2 separate regions of the Homo sapiens genome follow, and region 2 is linked to region 1. The links are contacts of gene promoters, found by promoter capture Hi-C in blood cells and fetal thymus (Javierre and others, 2016). All regions are on one chromosome and are shown on one strand. The core of a region is centred on a gene start or on the middle of the fragment in contact, and the rest is flanking DNA. Distances in the headings are between cores, read along the strand shown.

Region 1 (6,932 bases), core at 1,837-4,336:
GCTCTTCTTTCTCCTCCTCTTCCCCCTCCTCCTCCTCTTCCTCCTCTTCCTCGCCCGCTGATGACAAGGAGAAGTTATCCTGACTCACACAGGCCATGAGCTTTTTCATGGAGGATTCGTGGCCCCGGCCATGGCCCGTGCTGTGGCCTGGGCTGTGGCCTGGGCTCTGGCCTGTGTTGAGCTTGGCACAGCGGGAACCCATGGTCTACGTTGCCTGTCTCTCTGGGCAAGGAGGTGAGGCGGTGGGTGAAGGGGCTGCGAGTGGGGGCAGGATGCTGACATCACAAAGGGAGCCCATCCCCACTTGGGAACCTGGGTCTGAGCCAACAGTTAACTCACACCTCAGCCACTGGCAGCTCCCAGCCCCCACAGGGGAGGTCTGCAAGGCTGAGCACTGGGGCCAGTTCGGATGCCACACCATAGTCCTCATTTGCCCTGGAGAAAGTTTCCCTTGTAGCTGGGATGGGAGTTAGGGATTGAATTTCTAGAAGCAGGAGGGGCACACACAGACTCCTCCCCACATCCCAGAAATCGCCAGCCAGAGAGAGCTGTCTCTGTTGAGTTTCTTGACTGTTAACCCTTGGAAATAAATCATCAAGCTGTGTGCTTAAAATGTATGCACTCTGTAAGCTCATAAAACTCAGGAACCCTTGGAAGTCTTCCTTCGGGGGCCTGAAAGTGTGAAATCTTCTTGAAAGGCAATGGCTCCTAAGCATTGTTTGTTTGTCCAAGGCATGGGAACAGGCCAGAAACCAAGCTGGGATGAACAAGGGGTTGCTTTGTCCCTGACTGATGCAAGATGGACACCACCAACCAGAGGCCACTCTACCCAGGTCAGGGTGGAGTGACATCCTCTTAAGTGTTTTGGGGCCACAGAGAAGACATCATGGAGCTGCCCCTTGGCAAGGTTCCACATCTGTGCAGCACAATTTCAGCATGGGGGGAGGGGGTTTAGGACTTTGTCTTTTATACATTGAAATGAGTCGTTTGTACACTGCAATGGTATTTTTTAAATATAAATTTTTTGAGGCCAGGCGTGGTGGCTCACACCTGTAATCCCAGCACTTTGGGAGGCGAGGCAGGCAGATCATCTGAGGTCAGAAGTTCGAGACCAGCCTGGCCAACATCGTGAAACCATGTCTTTACTAAAAATACCAAAAAAAAAAAAAAAAAAAAATTTGTTTAGCTCCTTCAGCTACTCAGGAGGTTAGGGAGGAGAATCAGTTGAACATAGGAGGTGCAGGTTGCAGTGAGCCAAGATCGCACCACTGCACACCGCCCCAGTGACAAGAGCGAAACTCCGTCTGTTTTTTTTTTTGTTGTTGTTGTTTTGTTTTCAGAAACTCGTTGCTTCCTAAAGATTGGTCATTTCTGAGCACCAGAAATCCATTTGCCAACATATGGATTGGATCTTGCCAGTCTTATCCCCCCAGTCCTCAGTGGCTATGGTTGGCTAAGGTTGGCACTCTCCGAAGTGCCCCCTTCCTGATCCTGGAATCTATGATGTAAGGATTGTGAGATGGGGAGGTTATCTTGGGTTGTCCAGAAAGTCCCTCAGTGCAATCACAAGGGTCCTTGATTTCAGACAGGAGGGAGGAGTGATGCAGCCACAGGCCGAGGAGAGCAGGCAACAAGGATCGGATTCTGCCTGGGTCTCCAGAGGCTTCAGCCAGCACAGGCCTCACACAGCGCAGCCCATTACTCTGCATTCATCTACTCCTTGCCTTTTGCCGTCTCTGTGCTGACCAAGTTGTTGCTGGAGCATGCCAGACCTGTTTCCCACCTCGAAGCTGTGGCCTGCACTGAGCAGTGCCCCCACCTCTGCCCCCACCGTTTACACTTCCAACCACCCAACACTCAAGATGGGTTGTGTTTTTAAACTGTGGCACACAGTAGGCATTTAAATATGGCCACAAGGTGCCTTGGCATCTTTGTGACTTAATTAGGACTCGATCTGTTCTAACCATTTTCTCCTTTCATGAGGTAGGATCAGGTTCTTCACTGGAGGGGGATCCAGACAGACTAATGTGGCCTTTGACACCATGGAAGGATGCACAATAGACAGGACAGCATCATAGGGTGGCCTCCCAGGCACAGTAACCCTCTCCTAGGTGTCCTGAGAGCATCAGAACTCCCGCCCTACCTGCCTCTGAGGAAGGGCTGCAGAGAAGCCTCTACCCGCCCTGGGCGTGAGGGAAGCCAGGTTTGTGTGATTCGTGCAAAGAAAACCCGACAGGCCAGCGAGTGTCTTGTCAAGCTTTATTGGGCAGGTGACTTTTGCTCGTTTCACTCAGATCTTGTGGGCTTCTCGGCGGCAACTCAGGGCTTGAGCATTTGATGTAGGGGAGTTGCTATGGCCTCACTCGGTGTTTCTTGGGCAGGTGACTTTCTCTTAACTTCCAGCTGGGGGCTTGAGCATTTGATGTAGGGGAATTGCTATGGCCTCACTTGGTGTTTCGGGCGACTTTTTCTTAATTTCCAGCTGGGGGTGAGGGGCCCAGGAAGCTTAGTGCCTTCTGCATGTTCTCTTCCTGGTTCTGCAGCCTTTTGGGAAAGAAAGTTCTGGTTGAGGGGGTCACCTAGGGACTCTGGGTGGGGACGGGGGTTAGGGGGCTGGAGCTTTTGTCAGGTGGGGTGGGTCCCCGCCTCCCTCCTGTGCCTGGGGTGGTCAGGGACATGCAGGGCAAGGCGGGGGCGCAGGCAGACCTCTGCGATGCCTCCTCCGGTGCCTGCAGGAGCGTCTTTTGCGCCTTCTGCAGGAGCGATGCTGCCGCCTGTGGATCCGGTGCAGCCTCCTTCGAGAGCAGTGTCTGCGCCTATAGTGAGACTGGCCATGGGTCCTCTCGTAGACCTCGACGTGCTCCGGGCTCAGCCCTTGCTCCTCTTGGCCGTGGTGTCCTTGCTCTTGCCCATGCAACTGCTGCCTGTACACCTCGTGCGAGCGTTCGCTCAGGCTCCTCACGCGGTATCGGACCATGGTGTTGGGAGATCTGGTGGCTCCTGGGCTGAGGCTGCAGTGGGCCCTGGAGTAGGGGAGGAGGGCGGAGGCCTGCCCACCTGCCCTTGGTGTTACTGTTGGTCTGGTCTGCAAGGCTCCCCGGGAGCTTGTATATAAAGGGGGCGCCCACTATGACTCTGCGGCCCCGCCCAGTCCCCACCCTGCCCAGCCTCCTCTGTGAGGGCAGCACAGGGCCAGGGGTCACAACTAGCAGGGCCCTGGCACCCAAGCTGCAGGGCTGGAAGGGCGAGAGACCCCCTTGCCTTGCCTGTAAAGCATGTCCTCTGTCTCTTGCAGTAGGTGAACCATACAGATGGCAGGTGTTTTATTGCCTAATCCAAGCCCTCATCTCCCCAAGCCGGTGGGTGCGCACATTGTCATTTGGAAGCTTCCTTGCCAACTCACTGCTGTGCCACAGCCACCATGTGGAAGGGACTTCCGTGCTTGGATCTCTGTGCACACAGCTTACTGTTAAGATGGCAACAGCAGCAAACAGTTCCCTAATAGCTCCTATGTGCCAAGCATTGATTCATTTATTTCCCATACATTCACTCATTCTCTCTCTCTCTCTCTCTCTCTCTCTCTCTCCTCTTTTTGTTTTGAGGCACTGTCTGTCGCCCAGGCTGGAGTGCAGTTGTGCAATCATGGATCATAGCAGCCTCTACCCCTCCAGCTCAGATGATCCTGCCACCTCAGCCTCCCGAGTAGCTGGGACTATAGGCGTGTGCTGCCACTCCCAGCTAATTTTTTGTATTTTTTGTGGAGATAGATAGGGTTTCACCATGTTGCCCTGGCTGGTCTCACACTCCTGGCCTCAGTGAGCCTCCCATGTCGGCCTCCCAGAGTGCTGGGATTACAGGTGTGAGCCACCACCCTTGCATTCCTCACTCTTACAATCCTCATTTTCTGTGGGGCAAACAGGCATGAAGAAGTTGAGTTGCTCAAGGCCACTCTGCTGAGAAGGCCAGGCCGGGCCAGCATTCAGACGGAGACAGCCTGGTTTTAGTCATACCCTTGGCTCTCCACCTCCTCCCTAGCCCAGGGAATGCTCCCCTCTCCGCCTCCAAAATATTCATCTTCTCCCCTCCCGCTCGGCCTTGCCGGGGCTTCTCATTGAACTTTGATGATCCCATTAAAGTCCGGGATCAGAATCACAGAAACTGCAAAACCAGTTTCCCTTTCATGGAGGGCAGGGAGAATGTGGGAATGTGGCAGATACACAAATTTAAGGACTTGAAGATGCAGAGATCATCCCAGATGATCTGGGTTGGCCCAGTGCAGTCACGAGGGTCCTTAGAAGAGAGAATAGGGAGGCAGGAGGGTCACAGGAAGAGAAACTGGGAGACACCACACTGCTGGCTTTGAAGATGGAGGGAGAGGCTATAAGCCAAGGGATGCAGGCGGCCTCTAGAAGCTGGGATGGACAAGGAAATGGGTTATCCTCCCCTCGTGCATCCAGGAGGAACACAGCCCTGCTGACCCCTTGATTTTAGCCCCATGAGACTTCTTTCAGAATTCTGACCTGCAGACCTGTAAGATAATGCATTTATGTTGTTTAAAGCTACAAAATTTGTGATGATCTGTCACAGTGGCAATAAGAAACAAATTCAGGAGGCTTAATCTTCAGATCCTTACAGGAGGTGATGGGTGATATTGCCATGCCCTTGGTGTTTCTATGCTGCCTCTCTTTAGGGATAAGAAGGTCCTTTATGATGGCCCTCAAGCTCTTCGAGGGCGCGTGTTAAAAATATGAATGCTGAGGCCTTACCCTACGTCCCGCTAAGTCAAATCTCCATGGCCAAAGCTTGCAGATGAAAATAAGAAGGGGCGGGGCAGGGCTCGGTGGCTCACACCTGTAATCGTAGCACTTTGGGAGGCTGAGGCGGGTGGATCACCTGAGGTCAGAAGTTCAAGACCAGCCTAGTCAACATGGTGAAACCCTGTCTCTACTAAATATACAAAAATTAGCCGGGAGTGGTGGCGGGCGCCTGTAATCCCAGCTACTCAGGAGGCTGAGGCAGGAGAATTGCTTGAACCCAGGAGGCAGAGGTTGCAGTGAGCTGAGATGGCACCATTGCGCTCCAGCCTCGGCAACAAGGGCGAAACTTCGTCTAAAAAAATAAAATAAAATAAAATAAACATAGGAAGGGGCTGGGTGTGGTGGCTCACACCTGTAATCCCAGCACTTTGAGAGGCCGAGGTGGGAAGATCACTTGAGCCCAGGAGTTTGAGACCACCCTGGGCAACATAGTGAGGGCTCTGTCTACAAAAAATAAAAAAAATAGCCTGGGTCCATGGTGGCATGTGCCTGTAGTTCCTGCTACTCAGGAGGCTGAGATGGGAGGATTGCTTGAGCACAGATCAAGGCTGCAGTGAGCCACGTTCACACCACTGCACTCCAGCCTGGGTGACAGAGCAAGACCCTTATCTCAAAAAAAAAAAAAAAAAAGGCACACCCAGGGGTCTGCCTGTCCAGCCAAGCTGCTATCATGATCCGAGTGTGTTATGGGGAGTCATTGCTAAAGTGATCAGGGTCATGGTAGTGCCAGGGCTAGCACTGAACTCTCATGTGCTCACTTGAAAGAACATGGTTGTTGATACCCACCGTAGGTGAGTGCAGTGGCTCATGCCTGTAATCACAGCACTCTGGGAGGCCAAGGCAGGAGAATCGCTTGAGCCCAGGAGTTTGAGACCAGCCTGGGCAACATAGTGAGACCTCGTCTCTACAAAAAAATTAGAAAAATTAGCCAGGCAAGGTGGTGCATGTCTGTGGTCCCAGCTACTCAGGAGTCCAGGAGGCTGAGGTAAGGAAATCACTTGAGCTCAGGAGATTGAGGCTGCAGTGAACTGTGTTTGCGCTACTGCACTCTATTCTAGCCTGGGTGACAGAAAGAGACCTTGTCTCAAAAAAAAAAAAAAAAGGAAGTGATGTATGCAGAATACCAGGCACACAGTTGGTGTCCCATAAACAGAAGTCATACTGTGACATTTCTGAGGTGCTTGGTGGGCCCTGTCACTTCAGGGAACTGGGTCTCAGAGCCTCTGGTCTCTGCCAAAATGCTCTGGGTTTGCTCTACCATCAGGAAATGACTGTGACCCAGGGCCTGTGTCAAGGAATCGGAGAGGTGGGCTTTCTTAGGCTGTGGGTGAGCCAAGGAGACCAGTGCCCAGCAGGACTTCTTATGTCCTTCCCCAGATCTCACTGGGGTCTTAAACTCTTGCCTTAGAAATTTTAGTATAGGTGGTATATCAAGCAGCTTGAGTGTGGACTTAGATCCGACCAGATGGACAAGTTAACCTTTGTTTCTTCGGTGGACATAACGTTGTGAAACCGTGCCCCAAAGAGTAAAGAAACCGGTGGTTAACAAAAATGTTTGAGTTTACAGGATGGCAGATAAGAGACTTCCTTAATGGTGCTTGATTAAATGTGAAAAGTTCAGCTCCACTGCTACCTGGACAAGTTATCTCTGTACCCAAATGGGGATGAAAACTTCTGGCACAGAGTGAGGAATAAGCAGTTTTGAATTTAATTTTCCTGATGGTGACTGGCTTAATCTATTTAAGTTATAACCTAAGAGTTCCTTTGTTGAAGAGTGGAAATTTCAGCTTTGGGCTGAAATAAACCCGGGTGGGCAGCTAGGGGACAGGTCAGATGGGATGAGCTGGTTCAATCTTGAGCTCCAGCTGGTAAATGTTTAACTGGCTTTGGGGTTCCTGGGATGGAGGGAACCCAGATTTGTAGCATTTGCTGATTTCTGTAAATACTCCATGGTCCATTTCAAGCTGCCAAGATGAGGTCACCAAGCAGAGTGGGGAAATGTACACAGTGGGTCCTCAAACTCGAGAGACCTGGATAGAGCACCCCACTGGGTAGGGATCTGTTAAGAGGGTTTAGGAGGCAGGTTCTGGTTGTGACTTGGGGAGACTGGTTCTT
Region 2 (6,932 bases), core at 2,661-5,160, 120 kb before region 1:
TGAATCAAAGTGGCCAGTATGTTAGCAGAGGCCAGGGGAGGGGCCAGGCTTCACAGCCAGGGAGGTGTGGGGCTGTCGGAGCACAAGTCACCAGTGGTGGTGAGTCAGGCAGGCAGCGGGACTTGACCCCATGGGGTCACTGAGGCCCTGGGGATGAGCTGATAACAGGAATGGATGGAACCGGTCAGCTGTTTTGCTATTACTGCAGACCCGTTGTATTAATTTTTGTGCATTAATACATGAACGTAGAATATTATAAATGAAAACTGAGAAGCTACAGGAAGAAGAAATCACAATCCTATCAACCCAGAAGAAAGCATTGTTAATATTTCTGTTTATTTTCCACTTCTGTCTTCCCTGTTTTGTCTCTTTCTCTCATTTAAAAAAAAAAATACATGAGTTGATTGTTGATTTTTGAAAAAATCAGGCTGGGCACAGTGGCTCATGCCTGTAATCTCAACACTTTGGGAGGCTGAGGCAGGCAGATTGCCTGAGCTCAAGAGTTCAAGACCAGCCTGAGCAACATGGCAAAACCCCATCTCCACTAAAAATATAAATAGCTGGGCATGATGGTGCCCACCGGTAATCCCAGCTACTTGGGAAGCTGAGACATGAGAATGGCTTGAACCTGGGAGGCAGAGGTTGCAGTGAGCCAAGATCACACCAGTTCACTCCAGCCTGGGTGACAAAGTGAGACTGTCTTAAAAAAAAAAAAAAAATTGCAACATTGCAGGTGCGACTTAAGACCCCATCAGTTACCACCCTTCCTCAGTCATCATTTGCCTTATTTTTATTTTTCCAGACCCTTCTCTGTGCAGTTGCATTTCATACATGTGCCAGAGCTGATGAACAGAACAGAGCCACCACCCCTTCTCTGCAATTCTGAAACCCAAACAGCTCTGAAAATCAAAATATTTTTCCTAACTCGTATGATGGCAAAACCAAAACCTGCCTTCAGGTATTTATGGGCGGGTTTATTAGAGTCATTGATGCCAGTAATTGTGAGTTTATGTTTTCGTTTCTGCAAAAATTCAGTGTTTGGTTTTAGCTGCTCACGACCCAGCTGACAGTGTAACGTAATACCTATGTGTGCCCTACATGGCCTTTTACCTCCTAAAGATTCTAAATTCCAAGACATATCTGGCCACAGAGGTTTAGGATAAGGAGTTAAGTATGGATCTGTAATTGTGTTAAGGTTTGGGCTTCCCTTAAATAAAATCATAATTCTGTATACCCTGCTGCACCTTGCTCTTTTCAGACACCACTGTAAATCAGGAATCTGTGTTAGCACTTACAGATTTCACACATTCCTTTTCACGGCTGCATAGTATTCCAAAGCTTGGCTACTTGCGTTTCTTTGGCTGAGTGATTCAGTCATCCTAGTCTTTTTCTATCCCGGGCAGCGTTGCAGTGGGCATCCTTGGGCACACCTCTCTCTGTGTGCACGTGCAGTACAAGAAGCAGAACTGCCAAGTCACAAGGTTTTGTTTTCACAACATTGCCATCATGTCAGAAGCACTTCCCTGTACTGTAAAATGCCTCTTCTAAACTTCATTCTTGATGACTGCATAATAGTCCATTGTCTGAGTGTTAGTTTCCTGAGGTGGCCATAACAAAGTCCCACAAACTGGGTGGCATAAACAGCAGAAATTGATTGTCTCACAGGTCTGGAGGGTAGAAGTGCAAAATCAAGGTATTGGCAGGGCTGGTTTCCTCTGAGGGGTGTGAGGAGGACTCTGGTCCAGGCCTCCCTCCTTGGCTTCTGGTGTTTTGCTGGCAATCTTTGCTACTTTTTGGCTCATAGAAGTATCACCCCAGTCTTGCCTTCATCTTCACGTGATGTTCTACCTGTGTGAAAATCTGCGTCCAAATTTTCATTTTTTAGGAGGCACAGACATATTGGATTAGGACCAAACCTAATGACCTCATTTTAACTAATTGCATCTGTAAAATGACCCCATTTCCAAACGAGGTCACATTCTGAGTCTGAGGTACTAGAGGTTAGGACTTCAACCTAAGAATTTGAAGGGGACACAGTGAAACACAAAACAGTCTGAATTTGCCAGATTTTACTTAATCCGCTTATACTGGCCACTTACGTTGTTTCTACTACCTTATGAAGCACCCTATGACAAACATCCTTATTCAGAAATCTTGGTCTACATTTCCAATTATTCCTCCAGAAACCATTCCTTAGAGTCAGGGGGACTGTCCATTTGTCAGGCTCTGGGTGGCACCTTGCCAAATTGCCTTCCAGAAAGCAGAGTAGGGGGATGCCCACCTGGTCACACCTGGGCCCTTGTCTTCATTCACCTGGGCTCTCAGATGACTCCTGCCCAGTGCTCCAGGCTGAAGTCCTCTGCACATATGTGTGCGCCTCTGCCAGCATGTGCACAGGCATTGTTTCTATCAAGTCACTTTTTTATTTCTCATTCCTGCCAAAAAGAGAGAGAGTCTATGGGTTAATAGCAAAGTAGAAACCGTAGCTCAAAATGTCTGTTTGGGGCATGTACTCTTGCATCTGTATAGATGAATAGAGATTTCAGAAATACTGGGCCCTCTGGGCCTCAGGCATTAAATCAATCAGTGCAATTTCACTCACAGGGCAGCTTGCCAAGGGAGCCCAGGAGAGAGTAGCGACTTCTCTGATTTAGTTCAGTCCGTTAAGCTCATGGCAGCCTGCACCAGCTCACTGTTGCAAAAGGCAATCAAGTAATGAGTACTCAGCCACTTTCGGGGGGCGGGGGCCGGCTGGGGAAGGGGCTCTCTGGAGCCTTTCAAATGGAGCCAACTTTTGATAGCTTTTTAGGGTAGTTCTGAGAGCTGGAGACGGGTGAGGAACCCGGGAAGTGAGAGCTTAATTAACGGAACTACAGAGAATGAGGCAGCAAAGGAATCTCTCAGAGAACCAGGGGGTTTTGTGTGTGTGATGAGCAAAAGGATAGAACTAGGTGCTTGAGTACTGCCGGCTAGGAACCAGCATTGAACAGCAGATGCCTAACTCAGCACAGCAAGGGCCAGCTTAGCACAGAGACCAGAGAGCAAGATGCGCGGAAGGATAAATTTAGCCTGCATTTCAGGGGAAAACATCGATCTCAAATGTAGTGCTGTCTTTTAAAAGAAAGTGGAAGCCTTAGGCCGGTCATCTGGGACAATTTCACTTGAACAGCTAAAAGCCCAGGAAAAACGAGTGCTCATAACCAGCTCATGCTGCTAGCACACCCACAAGATCTTCCCTCTGCAGGCGGGCGGCTGGTGTCTGCATGGGTCTGACAGATGGTCCTCCTGCTACCCTTATCTGTTCCCAGGAAAAGGTGCTGCCTTGTTTTCTGGAGAGATTTGGGGTTTCTATTTCTGATCCCAAATGTTCATCTTCATGAGGAATGACGGGGGGCCCAAGCTCTGTGTTTGCTCAGCTGCTGGTCCAGGACATTGACATCTGGTGGGTTGCACCTGTCAGAGCAGGGCCAGTGCCAATCCCCTCTGTTGTCTAGAAGCTGAGCAAAAGACATCAGTTACTGGTGTCTGTAGATAGGGTTGTTTTGTTTGTTTTTAACCAGGTCCCCTGTAGCATTCACACAGCATCCTGAGCATTGTTTCTACCTGGTCAAAGCTAAGGGCACCACTGTGGTCCCAAATAATAGAGCACCTGTCCTAATGACGTTCCCACAATCTCGCCAGTCAGGTGGTGACGGCATCTTTCCTCCAGCCTCCCTCTGACACTGCTCCCCTGTGTCAAAGGGGAAGAAAGTCCAGTCTGTCAATATTTGGGGCACTAATCATCTGCGTTCGGGCGCCAGGGGTCATTGAAAGGCTGAGACGCTTCCAGGAATTCATGGCTCTAAAACCGTGGGGCTGACTGGAAAGGATCTCCAGCGAGGGTATGAAGAAAGAAACCCAAATCTCCACTCCACCCCGACCCCGCAGCCTCTGAGCATTGTCCATTGTGTCTTGGGTTCTTGGGAAGAAATGAAGTCAATGCACATAGTGATGTGGGCCCAAGTTAATAATAAATGTAGAGGAAGGAGAAAGGATGTTCAATATTTAAACATTTCAGAGCGCTGTGTTTGTTTGCCAGTTACTGCCCTCCGCCTGCTTCCTGGATGGGTTCTGTAAAACGGAGCCTTCCTTCCCCAACTGTGCAATTGGCATCTGACACCAGCGATTTACATAGAAAGGGAAATGGTGCCTTTTCTAGGTAGTCCCCGTGCCAGCAGGACTCCTTCTCGTTTTCTGTTGCCTTTCTTGAAGGAAGAGGATGACAACATAGAAACTAAGGTTTTTATGACCCCTGGAGCACTTGTGAGGAGTTGACAGCTTTAGGGTCATGTCCAGAGTTGTCTTAATTTTCCCAGATTTGCTTCTTTGAAACTGTCTCATATTTTAACATAAATGTTGTGCTTTGGTTCTTACCTCTAACAGATTAAAAAGGCTAAACAATGAAACGTACAGTTGTGTTTAAGAAACGTCACTCTAAGTATACATACTAGATACGTTCCTTAAAAGTTGCCTGTAATGCAGAATTCTGTGAATCAATTCCTCCTTTCTTCTTGACGCACATTATAGAAAAGGAAAAGCATTCCTTCTGGGGGAGGGAAAAACATCTGACCCCAAGACATAATAAAATCATGCTTAAGAATACAGTAAACTTTAAAGTCTCTTAGTTAAAGGAAATCAATACTTTTATGATGAAATATTAATAATACTAAAAAAATAAGTCAAAACTACAAATGCATAATAGCTAGGGTGATTTTTAATGTTGGACACATTAGCTCAGCATTTGTGAGGAGGAACAAAGGGAAAAGAGAGCAACCTAGCCCATTTGAGAAGCCCTTCTGGTTCCTAATAAGTCCCCTTTTTGTGGGTCATCTGTCAAGAAGACACACACCTCCCCATAAGTGCCAACCTTATTTCTAAGCATTTTGTTGAAGCTACCGATTTTGGAAATGAAAGGATGAATGTAGCTGGAGAGAGGAACACACACAGGTGTGTACACACGCACACTCCTGCACACACATGCGCAGACAGGGCAAAGAGAAATGGAGAATTGGGGAAAGCCATTTATTTGTTTGAATACACTGCTGGCTGTTCCCTCCGTCCCCATCCTCCATGAATTATTCTGGTAGGGATCTTTAAGAGGGATGGACTTAGAGTAGATTGAACCATATGAAATGGCTGTTTCTGTAGGTCAAGTTAGTTGAATATTGGCAGTTGCATATGGTTCAAGCTCATCCATTCAACTCTCTATCAAAGAAATGCAAATAGAATAGTCATGTGTCTTGAATGCAGTGTAACATGAGGTTTTTAAGAATCTAGATGAAAATAACTTCATTTTTCTCGTAAACGATTTTCATATAAATCCTTTAAACCTAGATATTTAAAGTTCCTTTAGAAAGGCTCTCTCATGTCTCACTTTGTTAACTCCTAAAATCTTCAGTCATAACAGCTAATGTGAGGAAGACTTTTGTTTTGTGTTGCGTTCTTTTCTCCAAAGAGCTGGGCCATTTCTTTTGCTACATACCCCTTTGTCTAAAGACACTTACGAAAATGAAAGTCCCAGGACAGGCGTGGGGGCTCACATCTGTAATCCCAGCACTTTGGGAGGCTGAGGTGGGCGGATCACCTGAGGTCAGGAGTTCGAGACCAGCCTGACCAACATGGTGAAACCCCATTTCTACTAAAAATACAAAAAAATTAGACAGGTGTGGTGGCAGTTGCCTATAATCCCAGCTACTTGGGAGGCTGAGGTAAGAGAATCACTTGAACCTGGGAGTCGGAGGTTGTAGTGAGCTGAGATCGTGCCATTGCACTCCAGTCTGGGCAACAGAGCGGGACTCCATCTCAAAAATAAATAAATAAATAAAACCCACCACTACAAAAAACAGAAAAATTACCCAGGTGTGGTGGTGTGCACCTGTAGTCCCAGCTACACGGGAGGCTGAGGTGGGAGGATCAGCTGAGCCTGGCGAGGTCAAGAGGCTGCAGTGAGCCGGGATCATGCCACTGCACTCCAGGCTTGGTGACAGAGTGAGACCCTGTCTCCAAAAAAAGAGAAGAAAATCCCAGTTATTGCCTCATTGGGCCCAAGTTCCAGGCACCGTAAATTCCAGCCGAGGAATCAAAACAGCGAGTGCTACCTGAACATTTAGATTGCGTTAATGCTTTCATCCTCACGAACCCTGTAAGGTGTGGTGGTGTCACTCTGCTTTAGAGTGACAACAGTGCTTTAGAGGACACAGGCTCGTGGGGTGAACAGGTCCCCTGCTGTCACATGCCCAGAGCCACGGCACTCTCCTCACCACCGTATCCTGTAGCCAGAGTAAAAGTGACAAGCCTAAAGCCAAGTTGCTGCTCTTCAGGTTTCTCCCCTGCAGATAGCAGAAGGCTCGTGTCCAGCCGTCCGGTTAGCCATGTCCCACAGGTCTGCCAGGGCAGACGTCAACAGAGCCCTGTCCACTTAACAACCTCAGCTGTGGGTTTTTGAAGCTTGTTCTGTGCTGTTATCCATCACGGCCTTTCTGTGGCTCCGCACATACTCCCTGATTCTATCTGACTCACATAGTTCCAGATAGTATCTTCAGTTCTTGTTGTAGATGATGTGTCATAGAACGTCATCAGCCATCGGTCTGGCCTAGCCCCAATCTGTTAAAACACACGGTAGGAGAGACTTTGGTGAGGTGACCCAGCTGCAGAAGTTAACTACCCCACCCTGCAAAGTCGGAGTCCTGGCGAACACAAGCAAATGGAATGGGTCCACAGGCATGGTGCTCTCTGCCTTGGGTGCATACTAAGTATGTGTCAACGGCAGGTGCCTTTTGCAGAGAATCAAGACTAATTCCCTGGCCCCTTTGTACAGTGCCACCTCCTAGAACACACGGAGCAGGCCAAACATGTCAGTGTAGGATACACACTGTACGGCCTCCCTGCTTCTG

The links. The method cuts DNA at HindIII sites, captures the fragments that hold promoters and counts their contacts. A CHiCAGO score of 5 or more calls a contact.
Region 2: a contact is called between a fragment that was not itself captured here and the fragment with the promoter of PRM2 in region 1, in 1 of 17 cell types (activated CD4 T cells). The highest score is 5.2, in activated CD4 T cells.

The regions. Positions count from the first base shown.
Region 1 is chr16:11,273,394-11,280,325 of GRCh38, forward strand. It overlaps PRM2 (protamine 2), which reads right to left and starts at 3,087. Exons shown (of 2, transcript NM_002762.4): 1 at 2,707-3,087; 2 at 2,246-2,544. The coding sequence starts at 2,977. The coding sequence ends at 2,507. All of the region lies in intron 1 of LOC105371082 (a long non-coding RNA gene), which reads left to right. It overlaps PRM3 (protamine 3), which reads right to left and starts at 236. Exons shown (of 1, transcript NM_021247.3): 1 at 1-236. The coding sequence starts at 202. It also overlaps the pseudogene LOC124900380. The HindIII fragment of the contact is 881 bases long and covers 2,504-3,384 here.
Region 2 is chr16:11,149,084-11,156,015 of GRCh38, forward strand. The region is part of intron 22 of CLEC16A (C-type lectin domain containing 16A); the gene reads left to right. Among named protein-coding and RNA genes, the nearest start is that of SOCS1, 100 kb to the right of the region's middle. The HindIII fragment of the contact is 5,148 bases long and covers 1,337-6,484 here.